Linked DNA regions of Homo sapiens: region 2 is linked to region 1. The links are contacts of gene promoters, found by promoter capture Hi-C in human tissues and cell types (Jung and others, 2019). All regions are on one chromosome and are shown on one strand. Each heading gives the region's core, a stretch centred on a gene start or on the middle of the fragment in contact. The rest is flanking DNA. Distances are from core to core; before and after follow the strand shown. Region 1 holds the start of SLC47A2 (solute carrier family 47 member 2). Region 2 has its middle 33 kb from the start of ALDH3A2.

Evidence for each region. Contacts are between HindIII fragments. The study calls those that stand out against the background at their distance.
Region 2: a contact is called between a fragment that was not itself captured here and the fragment with the promoter of SLC47A2 in region 1, in 2 of the 25 tissues and cell types used here (mesendoderm cells and thymus).

The regions. Positions count from the first base shown.
Region 1 is chr17:19,714,642-19,718,317 of GRCh38, forward strand. It overlaps SLC47A2 (solute carrier family 47 member 2), which reads right to left and starts at 1,943. Exons shown (of 17, transcript NM_001099646.3): 1 at 1,792-1,943; 2 at 475-576; 3 at 80-148. The coding sequence starts at 1,914. LOC124903948 (a long non-coding RNA gene) reads left to right here. Exons shown (of 2, transcript XR_007065659.1): 1 at 1-594; 2 at 2,733-3,676. RefSeq lists enhancers at 1,421-2,270, 2,271-3,118. The HindIII fragment of the contact is 9,747 bases long and covers 1-3,676 here.
Region 2 is chr17:19,613,492-19,617,164 of GRCh38, forward strand. No RefSeq gene overlaps it. Among named protein-coding and RNA genes, the nearest start is that of ALDH3A2, 33 kb to the right of the region's middle. The HindIII fragment of the contact is 3,298 bases long and covers 117-3,414 here.

The DNA of each region.
Region 1 (3,676 bases), core at 693-3,192:
CACCTGCCATCTCCATGGCACCTGTGGAATTGGCTCTGCCCTTGCCTGGCTTCCTGCCCAGCTCCAGGAGGCCACCCACCTGAGACATCAAGGTGTCACATGCCGAAGACAAACCAACTCCTACAGAAACTCCGCAGACATTGACAAACTGGCGCCACACACAGGAGGAAACAAGAGCTTGTCAGGTGAGGCCTGAAGAGAGGCCCCTGCATCTGGGCTGAGCCAGGGTCAGGAAATGCTGCCCAGCAGGCAGCGGTGGCAGAGGCTCTGCTCAGCAGCCTCATGTGCTGTGTGCCCCAGGGCCAGACCGCCTCCATCTCCGGCCCTCAGGTTCCACCTGTGAAGGCAGCTGTCCAGCCACGTGGGCTGTGTCTTCCCATCCCTGACCAGCCACCCAAGACGGGCCCACCCGGGAACCCGGTGGAGAAGCCTGGGGAGAGAACGTCCCTGCTCTGGGCCAAGCTGGGTACTCACGGCCACCGCGAGGGTCACCGATGCCAGCTCCACCTTGCCCAGGTGCCCGCAGAACACAGTGCTCACGATGTAGATCATAAAAGTCAGCACCTGGAACAGGAACTGGAGGACAGCGGCCAGGTCAGACTCGGGGCCACAGGTGCCCACACAGCCGAGCCCTGCAAGACAGGCCTCTCCAGCTTTGAGGGCCCCGCACCAGTGCCCCGAGAGGTCACCTACGCCTGGGGAAGCCAGGGCTGGAGGTCGGATGACCTAGCCCAGCTCCCATTCTGCGTTCTGCAGCTGCAGTCACGCCTGGCCTCCACGTCCCTACCCAGAAGGGTCAGTGCCTGGCGCAGCGCAGTGCCTGGCGCCCTGAGCTTGACCCAAGTGTCTGATACTGCTATTGCAGTTCCTATTATAACAATAATTTGGTCAGGCCGCACACCCCCAAAAAAGGAGGGGAATTAAATACACCAAAATCTTAGTAATGGCTATTTCCAAGTACTAGGATTTGAGTTAAATTTCTTTCTTCTTTATATCTTTCATTTTTTTCTAAAAGTTTTACAGGAAGTGCAATTCCATTACTCCTTTTTGGTTTTGTTTTTTTTGTTTTTTTTTTTTTTTTTGAGACGGAGTTTCGCCCTTGTTGCCCAGGCTGGAGTGCAGTGGCGCGATCTCGGCTCACTGCAACCTACCCGTCCCGGGTTCAAGCGATTCTCTGCCTCTCTCTCCCAAGTAGCTGGAATTACAGGCGCCCGCCACCATGCCTGGTTAATTTTTGTATTTTTAGTAGAGTCGGGGGGTTCTCCATGTTGGCCGGGCTGGTCTCCAACTCCTGACCTCAGGTGATCCTCCCTGCTCGGCCTCCCAAAGTGCTGAGATAACAGGCGTGAGGCAGCACGCCCAGCCTATTCCTCTTCATGATCAGAAAAAATAAATGTATTTAAAACAATTTCCCCTTTGGAAATGAAATGGGTAGCCGGCCCCTTCTTCCCCCTGCGAAGGTGCTGCAGGCTTCATGCATCTCTGGGTCCCATTTGTCCTGGAGCCATCTTCCAACTCAGGCTTTTGTGGGTTTCCAGCTGAGGCACACCCACCCCTTCTGTGTGGGGGCTGCCTGCTGCTGAGCAAAGTCAGGCCCCACTGCCACTGGGGATTGTCCAGAGACAGCTTTCAGGAGCCATCCTGCTGTCCCCAGACTCTGGACCTGGCAGTCAACATGGGCAGTTTCTGGGGAAAATGTGAGCACATTTCTGGATCCTGCCTGCAAGGCAGACACCCTCAGCCTCTCAGCTTCCTCCACTCCCTACCTGCCCCCCAGCTCCTCCTCCTTACCAGGGGTCCAGAAAGGGCAAAGAGAGTCCACATCTCAGTCCCAAAGCCTCTGGGAACCAGCCTGCTGAGGGCAGGGCAGCAGCCCCCATGGTCCAGGGCCACTGTGTCCTGGAGGCTGTCCATTCCTGGCCGGGGCACTGGCTACCCTGCACGCCTGAGCGCCTGCACGGCCAGCTTTGTCCAGCGAGCCACCCCCTGCCTGGGCAGCCCGTGTCGGTACAGCCTGGCTGATGAGTAAGGGGCAGGAGGAGGGGCTACCATGGCAACTTGTGGGATGAGCCCTGCCTCCTAGGGCACTGAGTCCCTGCTGCCAAGCCTACTGCCTCAGCCACTAGGGAGGACAGGTTCCTGGGAGTCACCCAGACCGCTGCCTGTTGTGTCTGGTCTCCCAGAGGGATTGGCAGTAAGGCCTCAGCAGGAGAAGGTCCAGGGCTGCCTGCAGTGGCTGTGGGAGGTGTGCTGAGGCCAGGACAGGGCAGCCTGGCTGGGGCAGCTGAGCCACTGGGCGTCCTGTACCCGGGCGTGATGGTGCCCACAGTGACTCCCGTTTTTCAGAAGAATTGGTGGCCTGCCCGAAGTCACAGAGCAGGTGGTGGCAGAGCCTGAACAGCCCTCAGCCCTGCTTTTCCCTGGGAGGGGTGGCTTCCCAAGAGACAGGGGCCTGGCAAACCCCATGGCAGTGCGGTCCCTAGCCTTTCATGCTGGAGGGGCCTGGGCCTGGGCCTGGGGATAGGGATGGGAGCTAGGACACCTCGGCGGAGTCCCAAGCCCCCCACTGCCCGTCACCCCTTTCAGCAGCATATCTGAGAGCCAGGGGTGGCAGTGCTTGGGAAAGCAGCTCACTATGCACGCCAGTCACTGTGCCCAGCAAGGCTGTGACTCGACGTCCCACAGGGTCCTCTGTCACCTTCCCAAATTGCCCTCTCTGCTTTTCCTTGCAGGGATGGCCTGTGACTCCCCCCTCAACCTGCCTCAAGACCAGCAGGGCAGTGGGAACCAAGAGAGGCATCTAAGGATTGCACCGGTCACCTAGCCCAGTCCTGGATCAAGCTTTTGGGTGTGGTTCAGCCCAGGAGAAGGAGGAGTGAGCGAGGGGGGCAGGAAGACAGCAGGCAGGCTGGCCAGTGGCTGTGGGAGGGCTGAAGACATCCCAAAGGCCCCACTTGGTTCCCATGTCCACCCCTGCAGCGGAGGAGTGGCCGGCAGGATTCCGAGATGCAGCCCCCAGAGCCGCGAGGAGGAAGGAGCAGACCCTGAAGGAGAGGAGGCAGGACAAATACAAAAAAAAAAAAAGGGTTTGCTACACCCATGGGCGGCCCCAAACACAGGCACAGCCCCACCCCAGTCAACACGCAGCCTTCTTTTTTGACACAGAATTCTGAAACGCTCCACTGGATCCTCCCAGGATCACCTGGGAGGTCACATTCCTGCCCTTGTTCTGATGGTTCTTATCACAGCACTCTCCAACCTGTGCACCAAATAGTACCTTTACCACCTGCCTAGAGGAAAGAAGACATTTTATCACCATCGTGATTGTGATGATGACACCAAACAGGAGGAAGTACAGGTGAAAGCTACAGCCCTGCAGGCCAGGCTATTGCTAGTATGTCTGACTTCCCTCCTCCAACACCTTCTCCACGTCCTTCTCACCTTTGGCCAGTTCTCATGGTCAGCCTACCTCTTCCAAAAGGGCAGCCGCAAATCCTCCTGCATCCAGGGGACCTGGGCCTGGGGTCTCTGTTATGTGAAACCAGCTGCTTCCAGCTGACAGGGCCTCTGGGGAGAGCAGTCACCTGCTGGCCTTGGCCTGTCACCTCCTGTCGCAGCATTGCAGTGAGCCCTGCAGCCAGAAGCAATACTTCTTGGGAGCCCATGGCGATGGGGG
Region 2 (3,673 bases), core at 516-3,015, 100 kb before region 1:
TGGCTTTTTTTTTTCTATTAAAAAATATCTCTTTGTCTTTTTGTTTATCTTCTTTGCTGCTTTTTTTTTTAGTTTCATTTTTAATTTCTAAGAACATCTTTTTTTTGTCTTATAGTCTCTTTTATGGGAACCTGTTCTTGTTTTATGCTGCATTACCTTTTAAATATCCCTGTGGATGCTAAATCGGAACTTTAAACGTTCTTCTGTGTTCCTTGAGTCATCTATTTTCTCTGAGATCAGTTGACCTTTTACTTATCTTTATCTGTTTTGGGGATGTGTGCTTCAGTCTTCCTCAAAGCTCTGGTGATCTTACTAGTCTGTTTATACTTAGGAATGAATGAGTACATTGATTTATCAAACAAATGGCCGGCATAGCTTTCCTCTCCTATTATTTGGAGATTTTTCTCCAACAGGCCTCTCCCCAAAATGGGAAGGACCAGTGGGGAACTCGGTACCAAGGTGGTACCTGTCCAGTGACATCTTCATTTTAGGACTTATGGGTGAGGATTAGGCAGTAGGCAGCCTGACCTCCTGCCCCACCTTATCCCCATGTCCCACCTATCCCCCAAAACAAAAGAAGAAGGGCCTGACTCACGCCACGGAGGAAGCTCCACACTTGGCTTTTCTGTGTCAGCCCAGCTTCTTGTGTGCAGTAAGGCTAAGGACGGGCAGGTCGCGGGGCTTGGGTGTCCTGTCCCAGCCCTGTGGCGCATCTCCCTGACTGCTCTTCTTCACAGCCTCGGTGGGGGGAAGCAGGGCGTCAGTGCTCCTGGAGCTCTACTGGGAAGACGGAGTGTGAGGCAGCATTCTGTTCATGTTCTGTGCTGTGGCTTCCTGCGTTTCTGCCCTTGGATCATGGCTGTGGAGCCTGCTTTCCCTCTTCCAGAAGCTGACCGGCTCTCATTCTCAGTGTTGTTAATGAATTTATTTTCTATTAAGCATGGAGATTTATTTTCCATTAACAGTGTTTTGGGAGGGAAGGGAGTTAGGCATGTGATTCATTCATTTTGAACTGGAAGCCAGTTATGTGTACTTTAGGCATGCAAATCTTAAGAGATGTTTATATACTCATACTCAGGTCTGTTTTTTTTTTTAAGTTCTTTTTTTTTTTTTTTTTTTTGAGATGGAGTCTCACTCTGTAGCCCAAGCTGGAGTGCAGTGGCACAATCTTCGCTCACTGAAACTTCCGCCTTCCGAGCTCAAGCGATTCTCATGCCTCAGCCTCCCGAGTAGCTGGGACTACAGGCGCGTGCCACCATGCGTGGCTAGTTTTTTGTATTTTAGTAGAGACAGGGTTTCACCATGTTGCCCAGGGTGGTCTCGAACTCCTGAGCTCAGGCGATCTGTCAGCCTTGGCACCCCAAAGTGCTAGAATTACAGGCATGAGCCACCGCGCCTGGCCTCAAGTTCTTAATCTTAACAATTTAATATATATTTTTATCAACTGAACTTAGGCTAGTTTTCAAAACAGTAATGAATTAGAAGGCTTTTGGGAGGATGCTGTTTCTAGTAGGAATGAGAAGTTAGAGCTGATGTACGAGTGATTAAAAGTGAACTTGAGAGCCCAAAGCTAAGTTGTCTGTACAACCCACGTTACCCTCGCAGCCCCTGGGGGCAGCATTGTATTGCAGGATCATGATAGGGGTCAAGAAGGTGGCCCCAAAGGTTGAGTGGTGGTCTATTTAAGAAGCAAATAAGCTTATAGCTTTAGATTTTCATAATCAATGATTAAAATTAAGCCTTTGCATTTGAAGGGGCCTCTTTCAATTTACCGGATAATCAGACATATGGAATGTTTCACCCATCCCACCAAAAACGAGGTATTGTCGTGGAGTCAGATTTCATCAATGTCTGGGGTTCCTACAGTGTGCCAGGCGCGGTTCTAAATGCTTTTTCACATGGGTCATTTAATTTTTACAAATTATTTGTATACTAACGTTTATACTAAGTTAAATCTTACTTTGTATAATGTAGCTAAGTTGAATTGTCTTGATAGTGTGTGTGTAGCCAATAAAGGGGGTGTGTTGCCCTCAAATCCAGCTTCATTACGAGGTTCTGCTGTGATGAATGTGGTACAGGGAGCCGTCAGGGCAACTGTCATGCTTCCTTACCTGCAAAGAAATCGGATGTCACATGGCTAAGCAATTTGTCCACAGTCACACAGCTAGGATGTAAGAGAGCCAGTTCTAGAACTCAGCTCTCCGGGTCTGTCCTGTTTCCATTTAGTTAGACGCTAGTGCACTAATACTCCAATGTTCAGGCTTTACGACTGTGATTTATGCTTCTTAATTCTCAGGTACCCCTGGGCCTTGGAGTTGCAGCCAGCATCCGAGTGGGCAATGCTCTGGGGGAAGGGAATGTAGAGGAGGCTTGGTGCTCCTGCACCACAGTTCTCCTGTGTGCTGGTGAGTCAAGCATTCTACTCCCTGGCATCTGTGCTGAACTTAGTGTGCTAAGTTAAAATCTATGTATCAGAATTTCTCTAGGAATTGAATCATATATATATATTCAACTAAAACATCTATTCTTTATGCTCTTTCAAATTTACAAAGTTAAATAAAGCTTTTAATTATGATTTTCTGTTAATGATAAACCAACTAAATAATGTTACACTTGGTTCTACTGAAATAATTCTAAAGACCAGGTTCAAGCAATTCTCTTGCCTCAGTCTCCCAAGTAGCTGGGATTACAGGCACGTGCCACCACACCCAGCTAATTTTTGCATTTTTAGTAGAGATGGGGTTTCACCATGTTGGCCAGGCTGGTCTTGAACTCCTGACCTCAGGTGATCTGCCTGCCTCGGCCTCCCAAAGTGCTGAGATTATAGATGTGAGCCACCACGCCTGGCCCAGTTTTATTATTTTCAAGTGTGCTTTCCTAGTGTCATCTGACCTCACTGATTTTAGACCAATGCCTAAACGTATTCTTATAAAATCTCAGGACCAAGGAGGTGATCAGATGGAGTAATAGGGACTGGATTTACCTTTCTGCTTTAAACAACTAAAAACTGGCCAACACATACATATAATATGTATATATATGTATGTATATATAATATATAATATGTATATATTATGTATGTATATATAATATATAATATGTATATATTATGTATGTATATATAATATATAATATGTATATATTATATATGTATGTATATATGTATAAATGTATATGTATATATGTACATTATATATATATATATTAAAATATATATATATATTTTAAAATAGTTTTCAATCCCTTGAGGCCAGGAGTTTGAGACCAGCATGGGCAACATAGCAAGACCCATCTCTACAAAAACTACAAAAATTGCCTAGATGTGGTGGCACATGCTTGTAGTCCCAGCTCTGTGGGAGGATCACCTAAGCCCAGGAAGTTGGGGCTGCAGTGAGCCATGATTATGCTACTGCACTCTAGCCTGGGTGACAGAGCAAGGCCTTATCTTAAAAAAGAAAAAAGTTTTCAGACATTGGACAACAGGCAGCCCAAAGAGGGGAAAAAAATGAGAGAACACTATGATTACCCAGTGTACTAGGGGAGAGTTTCCAGGCCATAGCACAGGAAGAGGGAAAGCCCTGCTATCTCTGTGAGATGAAGAAATGGAGTTGGGAGTTTTGGGAGGCCATGTGACTTGAGTTCACAAGGCAGGGGACCAGAGAGGAGAGAGTTT